Regions from separate parts of the Homo sapiens genome. Here regions 1, 2 and 4 are each linked to region 3. The links are contacts of gene promoters, found by promoter capture Hi-C in blood cells and fetal thymus (Javierre and others, 2016). All regions are on one chromosome and are shown on one strand. The core of a region is centred on a gene start or on the middle of the fragment in contact, and the rest is flanking DNA. Distances in the headings are between cores, read along the strand shown. Region 1 has its middle 5.8 kb from the start of GSX2. Region 2 overlaps CHIC2 (cysteine rich hydrophobic domain 2). Region 3 holds the start of DANCR (differentiation antagonizing non-protein coding RNA). Region 4 has its middle 17 kb from the start of GSX2.

Region 1 (3,391 bases), core at 733-3,232, 1.4 Mb after region 3:
CGGTGGACCCAGCTCTGCCATGCCGCAGATAGCCGCAGTGCCAACCCTGTTTAGATGGTTTGGATCTGCTTGGATGGCCCCAGCCCCTCTTGCTTCGATCTTTGGGGAAGTTCCCTAGGGAAAGGAGAATAAACAAAGTATTTCTGCCCAGAGGCAAAAAAAAAAAAAAAAAAAAAAAAAAAAAAGCGTAGCGATACCTATTTAGATGTTGGGACACTCTCCATAGAAGAAAAGGTTCTCCAGGGTTCCCAGGGAGGTCTTCCTTCTAGGACATCCGATGCAAAGTGGACTCCTTTGGTCACTTTCAGAATGGAGTATGAGGTCTCCTACTATGCTAGAATAAGTTTTACATGTTTCCCTATCCCCACTCCTCAAAAAATATCAGTTGATGTTTTTGAAGTTTTCAAATCGGAATAATGCTTTGGTATTTTGGAGTCGGTCTGATTCTAAAGACCAACAGTTTCACTTTAGTTTAAGAGCATTTAAGCCAACCCTCAGAAACTCACATTCTCAGCTAAATAATCTTGATATCAAACACCCATTTAAGAGGAAAGTTTAAGATGTATGGGGTCACCCTTGACAATTTCTCTACCTGGGAAGCACTAGATACTAGTTTCCATTATGCCCCAATTGAAAAACAGAAACAGAACTATGTTCCCCCAGAGCATGACCTCTTAGAGAGGTCATGGAAAGAAAGAAAGAATGGAAAGAAAGAGAATGAAAATGAGAATGAGAATTAGAAAACAGGAACTTGCTCCACCAAGAGAAAATCAGTGGGTAGCACCCGCTGTGAGTGTGGTTGAGTCCATCTTTTTGAGAACAAGTCTCATGTTAGTTTTAAACAGGAAAAGAGCTGGGGGTGGAAGGCAGAGTGGAGAGCAGGAAGGATGACCTCTCACCCATGTGCCCTGGCCCAGCCCAGACATTCAGAGCATAGAGGAGGAACAGAGACTTTTCCCCTTCACTCTCCCACTCAGCCACCAACAAATGCCTAAGGCCAAGGGCCTGATACTGATAGCAAACTAGGCCAAAAGCAAAAGTGACCCAGTAGCCCATCCTTAGGGTGTCAGTGGGCCTGCATGATGGAGACACTGGTGCCCATAGACCTCTTTTCCTCTAGGGTCCTTATTCTGAAGTGGTCATCATAGCTCAGTCCCTTCCCCACTCCCCTAAAGAATATCTAATAATTTTAGGAGAGACAAAACACTTGGGGATGTGAAGTCTTTGATTTCTGACCTCCGCCTCCGTCTCCTCATTGCCAACCACCACCCCGCTAACCCACAACGCCCCACCAGTTCTGTCCAGTTATATCTGGTCAGGATTAGAAATGCAGTTTGCTTGGCACACTCTAACTGTGGTCAGACAATTGCCAGAAAGGTGGTGGTTCTAACTAAAAGCAGTCACAGAGGGCAACAGGGGCTTTGTATGTACATGTGTGTAGTGTGTGCATGCATGAGGCACATGTGTGTGTGAAAGAGACAGAGAGGGTCCTTTGATGGTGGTGATGTAGGTGGAAAAGAGTAATTTTTAACCAGGTTTTCTTTTTCTTTTTGTTTCCCACTTATACCTTTCCTGCAGGTTCCACTCGCTTTTAATGGCACTCCTTGAGAGATTTCTTTGAGGGAGATGGGGAGGTGCTCAGTGTTGGGTTGTGGGGAGGAAAAACAGTCTGAACATGGAGGGGAGACATGGAGAAGAGCTCTGGGGCATGATCTCAAGCCCAGCCTTACGGGTGTGAGAGAGGGGAGGAGAATGACACTCCAATAGAACCTATTTGCTAGAGGAAATCAAGTTTAAAGGAGCAATCACTCCTTTCAAAAGAGCTCCTCCCATCTTCTCCAAACACAGCCCAAAGCTGTCCTAGACGATGAATGCAGTTCAGTGCATCAAAGCAATTGTTCCTATTTTCATTATTCACAGGAAATCTTTGAATGTACCTGTTAAGGTGACAGACCTTTTAAAAGGGAACATTTTTTTCCATGCAATTAAATGGTGCATTTACTAGGCGTCTATTAACATAATTTAATATAAATCTATTTTATAAATCTTTAGGCTCACATTACTGAAAATTGAGCTTCTCTTAAAAAATGCCCACATCTCTTCCCTAAACTACATAGAATAGAACCCAAAAACTTGCTATTCTAAGCCAGCTAGAAATATTAAAAGTAATAGAATCCTTTGTATTGTCTTTTGTTAATGGTGGGGGTATGAAGAAAAGGGGCAACTTGTCTCATAGAAATTCTATAAGGACCCGAGGCTTCTACATCCAACATCTGGCACTTGGAGTGGGCAACACAGGCTGGAACTAAGGGAGGGGCCAAAGAAGCACAGAACTTAAGACATCTCTTAGAATCAGACTTGAATCAGAACTCAGATTAAAAAAAAAAAAAAACTAAAAAAAAAGAAAGTCAGCAAAACTCCAACTTGCAAAGAAATTTGGATTCCAGTTTCTTCTGTTTGGGGAAAAAAATTCTGAGGCCTGTGAGACCTCTAGTGCTGCTCCATGTGGCAATAGATAACCTTGTCTGTTGCCATAGCCAGACTACTTATTCTCAAGTGTACCCTCCAAAATCCTGGGCATCCCATTGTCTCTGAAAATAGTGTTTTGTGCTCTCTTAATATACTGATGTCAATGCCGCCCTTCGGTACTGGACACTGCTTTTCTTCAAGCTGAGCCCTATGTTTTCCTGAACCCTTGCTGTATCTTTGTTGAGCCTTCTAAATCCCAAACCCAGGAAGGCCCCAGGGGCTCCCCTGAGTGAATCCTAACAGATCGGAAGTGTATGCTGTGTGCTTAGGAAAGTAACTAGTTTCAGATTAATGAAGCAGTGACAATTTCAATCTGCTTAAAGGCGGAGGTTGGCACTGCCCAGGCCTGAGCGTGGGGAGCTCGCCAGGCTGGGCTTTATATTGTCCCCTTTTCTGAAGAGCAGACAAAGATGGATAGAGAGACATTGAAAAGCAAGGGGAGTATTTCAAACAGTCTCATAAAGCAGGCTGTCACTTTAAGACAAGAACCATAGTGCTTTGATGACTTTGTATTAGCTGCACCATTTCAAATAGGGGACTCAAGTCTCTAGTGAGAGGGAGGCAAGGGGAGAGAGGAGAGAGAAGACAAGAGAGAGAGAGAGAGAGAGAGAGAGAGAGAGAGAGAGAGAGAGAGAATGTAGTAATATTTAGCCTGTGAGCACTGTGGCGAAAGTAATTCTAGGCAACTACTTGGTTTCTGAAGTTCAAGGAGAAACCACCCACAGCAGGTGCAGAGAAAAAAAGGCAGGTGGGAGTTGCTCCCGATGGGAAAGAGCTCCCTGCCTATGAGTGGCAGCCGGCTCCAAGGAGCAGAAGCCAGCTTGGTCTCAGTTTGCTGCGAAGGGATGGAGCAGGGTGAGAA
Region 2 (3,331 bases), core at 313-2,812, 1.3 Mb after region 3:
GATATGAACAGACACTTCTCAAAAGAAGACATTTATGCAGCCAAAAAACACATGAAAAAATGCTCATCATCACTGGCCATCAGAGAAATGCAAATCAAAACCACAAAGAGATACCATCTCACACCAGTTAGAATGGCGATCATTAAAAAGTCAGGAAACAACAGGTGCTGGAGAGGATGTGGAGAAATAGGAACACTTTTACACTGTTGGTGGGACTATAAACCAGTTCAACCATTGTGGAAGTCAGTGTGGCGATTCCTCAGGGATCTAGAACTTGAAATACCATTTGACCCAGCAATCCCATTACTGGGTATATACCCAAAGGATTATAAATCATGCTGCTATAAAGACACATGCACACGTATGGTTATTGCAGCACTATTCACAATAGCAAAGACTTGGAACCAACCCAAATGTCCAACAATGGTAGACTGGATTAAGAAAATGTGGCACATATACACCATGGAATACTATGCAGCCATAAAAAAGGATGAGTTCATGTCCTTTGTAAGGACATGGATGAAGCTGGAAACCATCATTCTCAGCAAACTATCGCAAGGACAAAAAACCAAACACCGCATATTCTCACTCATAGGTGGGAATTGAACAATGAGAACACATGGACACAGGAAGGGGAACACCACACACCGGGGACTGTTGTGGGGTGGGGGGAGGGGGGAGGGATAGCATTAGGAGATATACCTAATGTTAAATGACGAGTTAATGGGTGCAGCACACCAACATGGCACATGTATACATATGTAACTAACCTGCACGTTGTGCACATGTACCCTAGAATTTAACGTATAATAATTAAAAAAAAGAAACCCTGTCTCTATTTTTTTAAATACATTTTTAAAAAATAAAATTTATTTATTTAAAAAAATTTTTTTAAAGTATCATTTTTATACATATAAATACAATTTTTGAAAATTTTAACAAGAATATAATACATTCAATCTATAATAATTTGTCATATCTCTACCAACATCTTAAAATTTTGTTTATTTGTTTGTTGAGACAGAGTTTCACTATTGTTGCCCAGGCTGGAGTGCAATGGCACGATCTCAGCTCACTGCAACCTTCGCCCTCCAGGTTCAAGCGATTCTCCTGCCTCAGCCTCCTGACTAACTGGGATTACAGGCACCCGCCACCACGCCTGGCTAATTTTTTGTATTTTTAGTAGAGACAGGGTTTTACCATGTACGCCAGACTGGTCTTGAACTTCTGACCTCAAGTGATCCGCCCGCCTTGGCCTCCCAAAGTGTTAAAATTGCAGGCATGAGCCACTGTGCCTGGCCAGAATTTTTTATTATAAGCAGTCAAAATAATGAGTCTTTGAAATTATTTTTTCTGATTACAGAATCACTTTGTGCTCACTACAGGAAACTTGTAAAATATAAAAAGCAGAAAAGAATGTCCCATAATCTTACCAACAAGAAACAACCATTGTAACCATTTTATTTCTTGTATGGGTACCATCTTACAGTCAGTAAGAATACTATTAATTAATACTTATTAACCACTTCCTTTGAGATATTCAGCTAAGAGTTTTCCAAACATTTTCATTTTACCTTTATATTCAAGTAGTAGGTGAACATTTTACAGTTGTGTCAAGTAGGGTTTAAAGAGGTTAGGAAACGTGCCTAAGGTCACAGAGAAAAGTGGTAGAGCTGAAGCCAGCATCCTTGATCACTATACCACACCACTGTCAATGTACAGATACAGACAATGCCATACACTACTCCTTGCTTCTAAAATTATAAATATAATTTTTAGATGGCTATTTAATAACAGCACTTGGATATATAGTAACTTTACTGACTCACTCCTCTCCTGGATCAGATTATTTTCATATTTTATTCAGGATAGTGTGATTCATTCAATACAAAAAATAAAAACTAGATAAATGCAAGACTTGCTTGTCCACTTCTAAATTTAAATTAAAATATATAATTCAACTTACTCTTTTACTGAGGCAAATAACTGGCCACATACTGCAACCTAATGTGCAGCAGCAACAAAGGCAGCCACAAAGTAGCCAACGTACATTAACAGGAAGGTTCTTCTTAAGACAACTGTTAACTCTGTTGATGCTGGCTTTAAATTCTTCAGGAGCTACCTAAAGAAAAATTTTAAGAAATAATAACAATGCAATATTAATGTCAAAAAACATGACTGATGAGCATACTTTTTTCTAATTTTCTCAGAAAAAAACTTTCATTTTGAGGCATACAAATAGTACATAAATGAGACACTCACTTTTCCAGTTAATGAAGAAGGGAATTCAGATTCAAATTTGTTGCTCAGTCCAAATCTATTTTAAAAAATAAGAAGAATATGTTATTACATGTTATTGTTGCCAAAAATGTAGACCATTTAATTTAAAGGTCAAGTCAATAGAAAGCATTTTCACATATGGAGGAAGTTTTAGACATAAAATGGAAGTTTGAGATAAAATAACTGTAACAAGCAATTTATGAAATGTAACAATTATTTTAGCAGTTAAATGGAAACTTTTGCATAATGATAAGGGGCTGAATGTTAATTAACCAGCAGTATGTAAACAAAAATATAAATGGTTCATTTAATTTGAGCTACCAACTTTATATCTTAAAAAGTAACTACAAAGCATATTATTTTAATGGGTGGGATAGCGATTTTTTCCAGCTTTTAATGTTATTGGTGGAAACAAACAATACCTGTGAATTTTAGCAGGTGTCCTACACAAGCAATAAGATGAGAAGGAAAAATGCAGGAAAAAGAGTGAGGAGGGGAAGAATAAGGAAAAAGGGAGAGAAAAAATAAAAAAGTAGGAATGGACAAAGTGCTACCAAGAACCGTCTTAGGTTCCATTGAACACCTATTTGTCAGTGCATTAGATGGTATGAAAGAAAATGTAGACGTGTACTATACCTATATCTATTCCTATTACCTAAAAGACCTTTTCTTGAATCATGGTTAAAATATTCCATGGCTTTAGAATTGATAAAAGATTTAAACTATTTTCAAAGAATGGTAAATATAACAAGAAGATAAAAGACATAATAAAAACAACCTATCTTGCTTTTATCTATCAGAAGTCTACCAGTACTTGGAGAACAGAGAATTCATTCAAATCACAACTACTGAGCACATTCCATGCAACACTTCAGTGCAGGCTTTTATGGCTTTTACAGCTTCCTTTGTTTCCTTAAGAAATCACACACGAGACCAATTTTACTTTTATATAATTTGAGATAATTTTGAAAGTTCATGTAATACACTGTAAAGTTTTGAAGGGGGGACTCCAACTTTACACCTAAATCTAAATGGAATCTTGAAACAGGCT
Region 3 (3,617 bases), core at 30-2,529:
TGGTGGTGCATGCCTGTAATCCCAACTACCCGGGAGGCCGAGACGAGAATAGTTTGAACTTGGGAGGTGGAGGCTGCAGTGAGCCAAGATCGTGCCACTATACTCCAGTCTGGGCAACAGAGCGAGACTCCATCTCAAAAACAAAACAAAACAAAAAAACTCTTCCAGGGTTTCCTGCATGGTCTGGCCCCAAGCCATTCTCATCTCAGGCCACTCTGCTCCTTAAGTTCCATTTCTGGGAGTCCTTAAACAGGTAAAGCCCTTTCCTGTTTTATCTTGGGGCTCTGGACGAGTTGTTCTTTCTGTTTACAAAGCCACACCCCACCAGAGCTGCCTGTCTTGATCTGTTAACCAAGTGTAGGCTATTTTTTGGTTTCCCTTCCTGCTCCACCCCCAACACCTGGGGAAAGGCTAGGTAGCATGTTGTTTGAGGGGCTCTGCCTTCAGGCTGCTTGAGTTCAAATCCTGGATCTACCACTGGCTAGCTGCTCTGTGACTTTGGGCAAGTTACATAACATAATTATTTCCCCATCTATAATTTGGAGATGATTAAATATATTTTGAGGATTAGATTTGTTAGCAGATGGTAAGTACGTGAAACAGCAATAGAAGTTCTCCTTTTAGCATATACTCCAATTTTCTTCTACTTATTTGTTTGCCAAGTTTGAGCCTGTTACCTTGAGATTGCTATGGTTGCCTTCTCAACCTCCCCAACTCCTACCCTCCAGCTGATTATGGTCTACTTATTGGACTCTGTAAATGAATAAAGAGGGAGCATGAGGAAAGGAGGTAGTCCTTCTAGCTTTAGGAGAGGCCACGGGAGTGAGCTTGTTGAACAAGACATGGTCGTGGCTTCTCTTTAAGCTTACGGTTTAGGCGGACACAGATGATGAACACACACCGGATTAGTGTGGCTTTAAGAAAGGGAATCCCAGGGCCTTAGGCCAACCCTGGAGTAACCTCGATGCCCTCTCCAGAAGGGCACCCGAGGAAGGGTCTAGGGCCCAAGAGCACCAAAATCACCAACGCCGGGGATTGGTAGGTAGCCTGAAAAATCTAATTCAGAGAAGGATGCTCCGCGCGCAGACATGGCTTATCCCCGTGCTACTGCATGAGCCACACCTAGGCCGGCCCCGGACACCGACAGCCAATGGCCGGGCCCGTCCCGCCCCATCCGGGATTGGCTGTGCGTGCCGCGGCCCTCCACCCCGCCCCGCTCAGGATCTTCCCGGGATTGGCTGAGCTACCCGACCTCTCCAGGGGATCGGCTGCGCGCCCCGCCCTTGCCCAGAGTCTTCCCGGGATTGGCTGCGGGCCTCGCGACCCTCCTGCTTCCCTCCCCGCCCCGCGCCGCCTCTCTGGTTTGTGCGCCCGTCGCAGGTCGCAGGCCTCTTTGTCAGCTGGAGTTGCGCGGTGAGTGCATCTCCAGTCTTCGGCTTTCGGTCTCCCGCGGGGAGGGCGCCCGGCCGGCCCGTGGGTCCGATCAGGGGCTGGGCTCGCCCGGTGTCCCCACGAGCTTTGCCCGCCTCGAGCTCCTCTGCTCCCGGCGGCCAGAACGGAGGGGTAGAGCAGCCCTCGGCGGCCCGGGGGGCGGGCGGCGGTGCCCGTCCCGGGGCTGCGCGAGGCACAGGCGCCGCGCCCAGCGGAACAGCCGGAGGTTCCCGGCGCAGGTCTGGGCACCGTAACAATTTTGCGCTTTGCTTCCCCAGGGCTGACGCGCCACTATGTAGCGGGTTTCGGGCGGGCCACGCGTGCGGGACAGGAACCCAACCCCAGCCGACCTTGAGCTCCAGGAGTTCGTCTCTTACGTCTGCGGAAGTGCAGCTGCCTCAGTTCTTAGCGCAGGTATGTTCCTAGCCTTGAGCGGGGTGGGGGAAGGAATGAGTCAGCCTGGAGCACGTGGCCAGTGGGACCGGAGGGTTCCCCGGCGTCTGTTTGTCGCCAAGGTCCGAATCCGGCTCCCCTTAACTGGAAGGAAACATCCATGTAGGGGCTCACCAAACAAAACAGCTGTGTTTCTAGTGTGGTTTCAGACTTAGAGAAGCAGAGATCCACGAGGTATTGAGAGCAACGCGGAAAATAGTAGTGAACCCTGTAAAAATCAAAGAAAAAAAATCACAAAGCACCCTTTCCTGTGCCCTTTTAAGGTTGACCCAGTGCTTTAAGAGGCTAACACAGAAGGGTAAAGTAAGTCTCCATAAAACCCAGAGAAGAGACTGGAAAGCTCCTCTTTGGATCCTGTCTGGAGTCACAACTGAACCAGAAAAAGTTTCGTTACAACTTGAGCGCCTTTGTGATTTTCTTTACAGTTTATAGAACAAGCAATACATTTCAGTTTTCTTTGGTTAAAACGTCATTTTAAAACTTTTCTTTCTATAGGTTGACAACTACAGGCACAAGCCATTGAAGCTGGAATGTCCTGTTGCTGGTATTTCAATTGACTTAAGCCAACTATCCCTTCAGTTACAATAGGAAAGTGCCTCTAATAAGGCCAAATATGCGTACTAACTTGTAGCAACCACGTGTCCGTGCAGTGCCACAGGAGCTAGAGCAGTGACAATGCTGGTGGCAACAGGGCAGTGTAGCAGGTGCTTCATGTTCACCTTTTCAACCTTTTCATTTAATTGTCACAACTCGGAGGTGGATTCTGTTAGGGACAGGCTGCCCCAGGACCACTCCGCCCCCGCTAACTCAATGCAGCTGACCCTTACCCTGAATACTCTGCAGCTGCATTCCTGAACCGTTATCTAGGCGCTATAGCAAGGTCACCAGACTTGCTACACCGAAGCCCTCTGGGTGGCACGGGGGAGGTCATGAGAAACGTGGATTACACCCCCTTGTAAATTCCTATTTTCACAAGATAATATATTGTAAGCCGGTCATGAGATTATATGTGGTAAAGTTAATTGACTAACAACCCCAGGGTCTCTCTCCCCCATATAAACCCCTCATTTTGTAAGCTCAGGGCTGCCACCTCCGACTGGTGGAGAAGCCTGGCAGGTTAATAAACTTACTTGGCCTGACCTTGGGTCTCTTGTCTTTTCTCTCGGCTAACCTTACAGATTCTATTCTCCCATTTCACAGGTAAAGAAATGGATTAGTGATAACTCAAGTTTCATCACCTGTGAGTATCTCTGAATGAGAGGCTTCACATGTATAACTTTTAGGCAATGTGACTTCTGGAAAGTCACTTGTCTCTTGAGATTTGGTGTCCTGGTGTAACAGTTAAGAATTATTTCAACCAAACTAGGAAAGGACCACAGTCGAGCTGTTAAGAATATAAACTCTTCATATTATTTCATTGCATTGAGCCTAAGAAGGTTCACAAAATTTGGCACAGAAGGAGTATCTGTCAGCATATTCTGTTTTTTTGTGTGTGTCTATGTAGCAAGTATTAATATTTATCTTGGAGTCATTCTTAATTCATAGCATTGTTCTTACCTTTTTATCTAAACTTTTATGTTCCATATTGTAAAGTCTAGCCTCATAAATTTAGGTAATTGCTCACAAGTTTGGATAATGTTGAATTGTAATCCCGATGTTAGAGGAGGGGCCTGGTGGGACGTGATTGGATGAAAAGGGTGGATTTCCCTCTTGCTGTTCCTTGTGATAGTGAG
Region 4 (3,673 bases), core at 453-2,952, 1.4 Mb after region 3:
CTGCCTATAAATTAAGACCTTGGGCAAATTAGTCCTTTATTTGTTTCTTTTCTTTTTTCAGAGACAGGGTCTCACTATGTTACCCAGGCTGGCCTTGAACTCCTGAGCTGAAGGGATCCTCCTGCCTTAGCCTCCCAAGTAGCTAGGACTACAGGCACACACCACTGTGCCTGGCTTCAAATTACTTCTTTGAATCTTTGTTTTCTAGTCTATAAGATGGGCATGATACCCTTCTTAATCTTTATTGTGATAGTTAAATGTAATAACATTACAAAATGCTTAGTAGAGTGTCTGGCATGGCAGACACTTGATGAATGATACTTATTATCGCTATTATTCTCATCATCTAAGATACTTCAATTTGATGTAGTCAAATATTCTATTCTACTTATCTACCTCTCTAAGTGAGGGCTACTCTGTAACATACTGCTATGGAAAGATCAGGAATCTGCCCTAGACATGTATAAATAAGTACTTTATGCCCAAATGAGTATAAATTTTACCTCTGGTATAATTTCTATGGGGAGATAAAACTTTAATTGCCATATAGGAAACCACTGGTGAATTTGGGATGATTTGATGTGCTTGTTTTGGGTTGCTTGTTGCTGTTGTTGTTGTTGTTGTTGTTTTTAGAGATGAGGTCTCACTATGTTGCCCAAGATGGTCTCGAACTCCTGGTCTTAAGTGAGCCTCCTGCCTTGCCCTCCCAAAGTGCTGGGATTATAGGTGTGAGCCATAGCACCCAGCCTAAGTTTTTACCATTGGGAAGCAAATGTTTTGTGGAGAAGCCATAGTTTTGAATAGCAATTTAAAGATGAAAAATAGATGATAGAGGTGGAGAAAGGTGTCAATGGGAAACCCCACATATGGTAAGATAACTATGTGTGCCATGGACCACAAACAGGCTAGCCTGGTCGAAGCAAAAAGGTTGATCCCGAACATAATGGGATGAGGGCATTAGATAGGTAAGGAAGTGACTGATGGAAAATCAAGAGTGATAGCTGATGATGAATGGTGATACTGTATATGATTTTGTGCATTGATATACCATTTTTCCTTTCTTTTTCCATCTACATGGATCTCAAAAATGAGCAATCTTCTCTCTGGAGGTGGATAAGACAGAACATTTTGCAAGCCCTTTAAGTCCTTCAGGAAACACAAACATCCTGTGATCTGTCACTCAGGATTCTGACTCAGACTGGGAATCTGAGCAATGCTCATGGCAATAAGCCAGGACCAGGCCCTAAACATCTGGCTGCTCCACTGTATGGATCTTTGGCATGTTAAATGTCAACAGACCTTGTGGATATAAAGTTGACTCAGTCAGAAAACATCTACGGTCTACATGGAAAAGAAAGTCTTTTGGAAAGAAAAGAAGGCAGGGTGTCTGAACCCTCCATCAGGATTTCCCTACTCCACTCTATTTCTATTAGATGAGAGGGATGAGGAAAGAGTACTCAGCCACCTTTTCAAGTCATCTGGTGGTCAGGGCTATTTGTAACTCTAATCTCATATTCATACCAGTCGTTTCTAAATCCAATCCCATATTTACACCAACCTGTCTTACAACCTTAATTTGGTTTCCCAGGTGTATTCCAGTTCCACTGTCAAATAGTAAGTACTGGATTATCCCTAGATAGACTCACCAAAAGATTATACAAGTCCTTAGAGGAGGGAAGTGAGACTGTAGAAGAGACTCAGCATCCAACAAATATATCACATAATATATTCAAACTACTCTAAGTACTACACCAAAACAATGACTTTCCTGACCACCATCCTAACCATGACACCAACCCTGGGTAATTTCATCTCATCATATTGCTTCAAATATTATATATGCTTTAAATAATATAGGCTGATGCCATTTTTATTTCTACTCTCACTTTCTTTTTTCTTTCTTTCTTTTTTTTTTTTTTTTTTTTTTTTTGAGACTGAGTCTTGCTCTATTGCCCAGGCTGGAGTGATCTCGGCTCACTGCAACCTCTGCCTCCCGGGTTTAAGCGATTCTCCTGCCTCAGCCAGCCAAGTAGCTGGGATTACAGGGATGTGCCACCTCACCCAGCTAATTTTGTATTTTTAGTAGAGACGGGGTTTCACTATGTTGGTCAGGCTGGTCTCGAACTCCTGACCTCAGGTGATCCACCCACCTCAGCCTCCCAAAGTGCTGGGATTACAGGCATGAGCCACCACGCCCAACTCCAATCTCAATTTCTGTTAAATTCAGATCCATATTTCCAACTGCTACTCTACATCAAAAATTTCCTCTTGGCTATTCTTATAGCACTTAAAACTCAAAATGTTTACAACCAATTTATCTTTTTTCTGTTCCATTCACTCTATCTACAGTCTCATCTGAAACAACAAAAAACTGCTTATCTTTCATCTGTAACCACTATATTTGTTAACACAATCATATTCAATACAGACACCTGAGCTAGAAACCCAAGTCCCCACTGACCCATTTGTCTTTCTGTACCCCTGTCCTATCTAATTAGTAACCAAGGCTCATTGGTGCTACCTTCCAAATTACTCTTGAATTTATTCTCTCCTCTCCATTCCCACCACTACTGATTAATGTGACACTTATCATTTCAAGTCTGGACTTTGGTACTGGACACTAACTGTCTCTGGTTTCTCTCTCTTCCAATCCCATCCTTTACAATGATTACAATATAATCATTTCAATTTTCTGCTTAGCATCCTTCAAAGACCATTCATCTTACTACAGAGGCCTTCATACTTCTTCACCTGCCACTCACACTCTTTGCTTTCTGCCACTAAGCAGCCCTTCCTGCTTCTGTCTCCTGCATGCAGCTTAATGCATATCCATCCTCTGGGCCTGTGCTCACTCTTGAAACTTTGGCCTAGAAGTCTCTTCTCCTGCTGTTGTTTTTACTCTGAGCATCTCCTAGAAATAGTTCAAGCCTCAGTCTCAGAGTCCATGATGCCAGCAGGAAGAAAGAACAGATCTCTCCTCCATGGTTCCACAGTTGTTGCATGCCACTATCACACACTTACTTGAATTCATTGATGGCTATGGTTAGGTGAGCCACTGTGCCCAGCCCGGGGTCTAGTCATCTTTGTAGCCCTAGTACCTAACATATGTAGGCACTCAGTAAATAATGGTGAATTAAACTAAATTGAATTTTAATAGCAACTGTCTCCTATTTCCAGAAGTTCCTCTAACAATATGATGCAGGCCTTATATTTAAAAGTAGCCATTATTCTGATAAGTTTTATATTTTGTTGACAGCTAAGTACACTAAGAGTCCTGTCTGGATAAGGGTCATTCTTTGGCCAATTTAAATGGAATTGTGATTATATTAGGCCCATATTGTTTGGAATCTAACTAACTTGTCTGATCTCAGAAAAATTACAAAAAAAAAAGAAAACACAGGTAAAAACCCCTCTCAAGGACAGCAATGACATAGTTAACTTTGGCTACCAATGCACCTTCTACATTCATAATTATTGTCACTGATGCTTTAGAGCACCCAGAATAGTGAAATAGTGTATAACTGAGACCTATTAAATTCTAACAGGCTAAGCACAGTGGCTTACACCTGTAATCCCAGTACGTTGGGAGGCCAGGGCAGACAGGTCACTTGAGGCCAGGAGTTTGAGACCAACCTGGCCAACATGGTAAAACCCCAGAAAGCAAAAAATTAGA

The links. The method cuts DNA at HindIII sites, captures the fragments that hold promoters and counts their contacts. A CHiCAGO score of 5 or more calls a contact.
Region 1: a fragment that was not itself captured here is called in contact with the fragment with the promoter of DANCR in region 3 in 1 of 17 cell types (activated CD4 T cells); the score reaches 5.7 in activated CD4 T cells.
Region 2: a fragment that was not itself captured here is called in contact with the fragment with the promoter of DANCR in region 3 in 2 of 17 cell types (activated CD4 T cells and non-activated CD4 T cells); the score reaches 6.5 in activated CD4 T cells.
Region 4: a fragment that was not itself captured here is called in contact with the fragment with the promoter of DANCR in region 3 in 1 of 17 cell types (naive CD8 T cells); the score reaches 5.1 in naive CD8 T cells.

What each region holds. Positions count from the first base shown.
Region 1 is chr4:54,104,301-54,107,691 of GRCh38, forward strand. No RefSeq gene overlaps it. Among named protein-coding and RNA genes, the nearest start is that of GSX2, 5.8 kb to the left of the region's middle. RefSeq lists an enhancer at 1-461. The HindIII fragment of the contact is 4,357 bases long and covers 1-3,391 here.
Region 2 is chr4:54,046,989-54,050,319 of GRCh38, forward strand. It overlaps CHIC2 (cysteine rich hydrophobic domain 2), which reads right to left. Exons shown (of 6, transcript NM_012110.4): 2 at 2,263-2,317; 3 at 1,967-2,122. Among named protein-coding and RNA genes, the nearest start is that of CHIC2, 16 kb to the right of the region's middle. The HindIII fragment of the contact is 6,225 bases long and covers 1-3,331 here.
Region 3 is chr4:52,711,115-52,714,731 of GRCh38, forward strand. DANCR (differentiation antagonizing non-protein coding RNA) reads left to right here and starts at 1,280. Exons shown (of 5, transcript NR_145129.1): 1 at 1,280-1,413; 2 at 1,710-1,845; 3 at 2,380-2,428; 4 at 3,085-3,124. It overlaps MIR4449 (microRNA 4449), which reads left to right and starts at 1,568; the gene lies at 1,568-1,633. SNORA26 (small nucleolar RNA, H/ACA box 26) reads left to right here and starts at 2,135; the gene lies at 2,135-2,256. RefSeq lists silencers at 1,086-1,919, 1,094-1,663 and an enhancer at 1,914-1,963. The HindIII fragment of the contact is 6,853 bases long and covers 863-3,617 here.
Region 4 is chr4:54,081,114-54,084,786 of GRCh38, forward strand. It overlaps a transcript of CHIC2 not described here. Among named protein-coding and RNA genes, the nearest start is that of GSX2, 17 kb to the right of the region's middle. The HindIII fragment of the contact is 6,758 bases long and covers 1-3,673 here.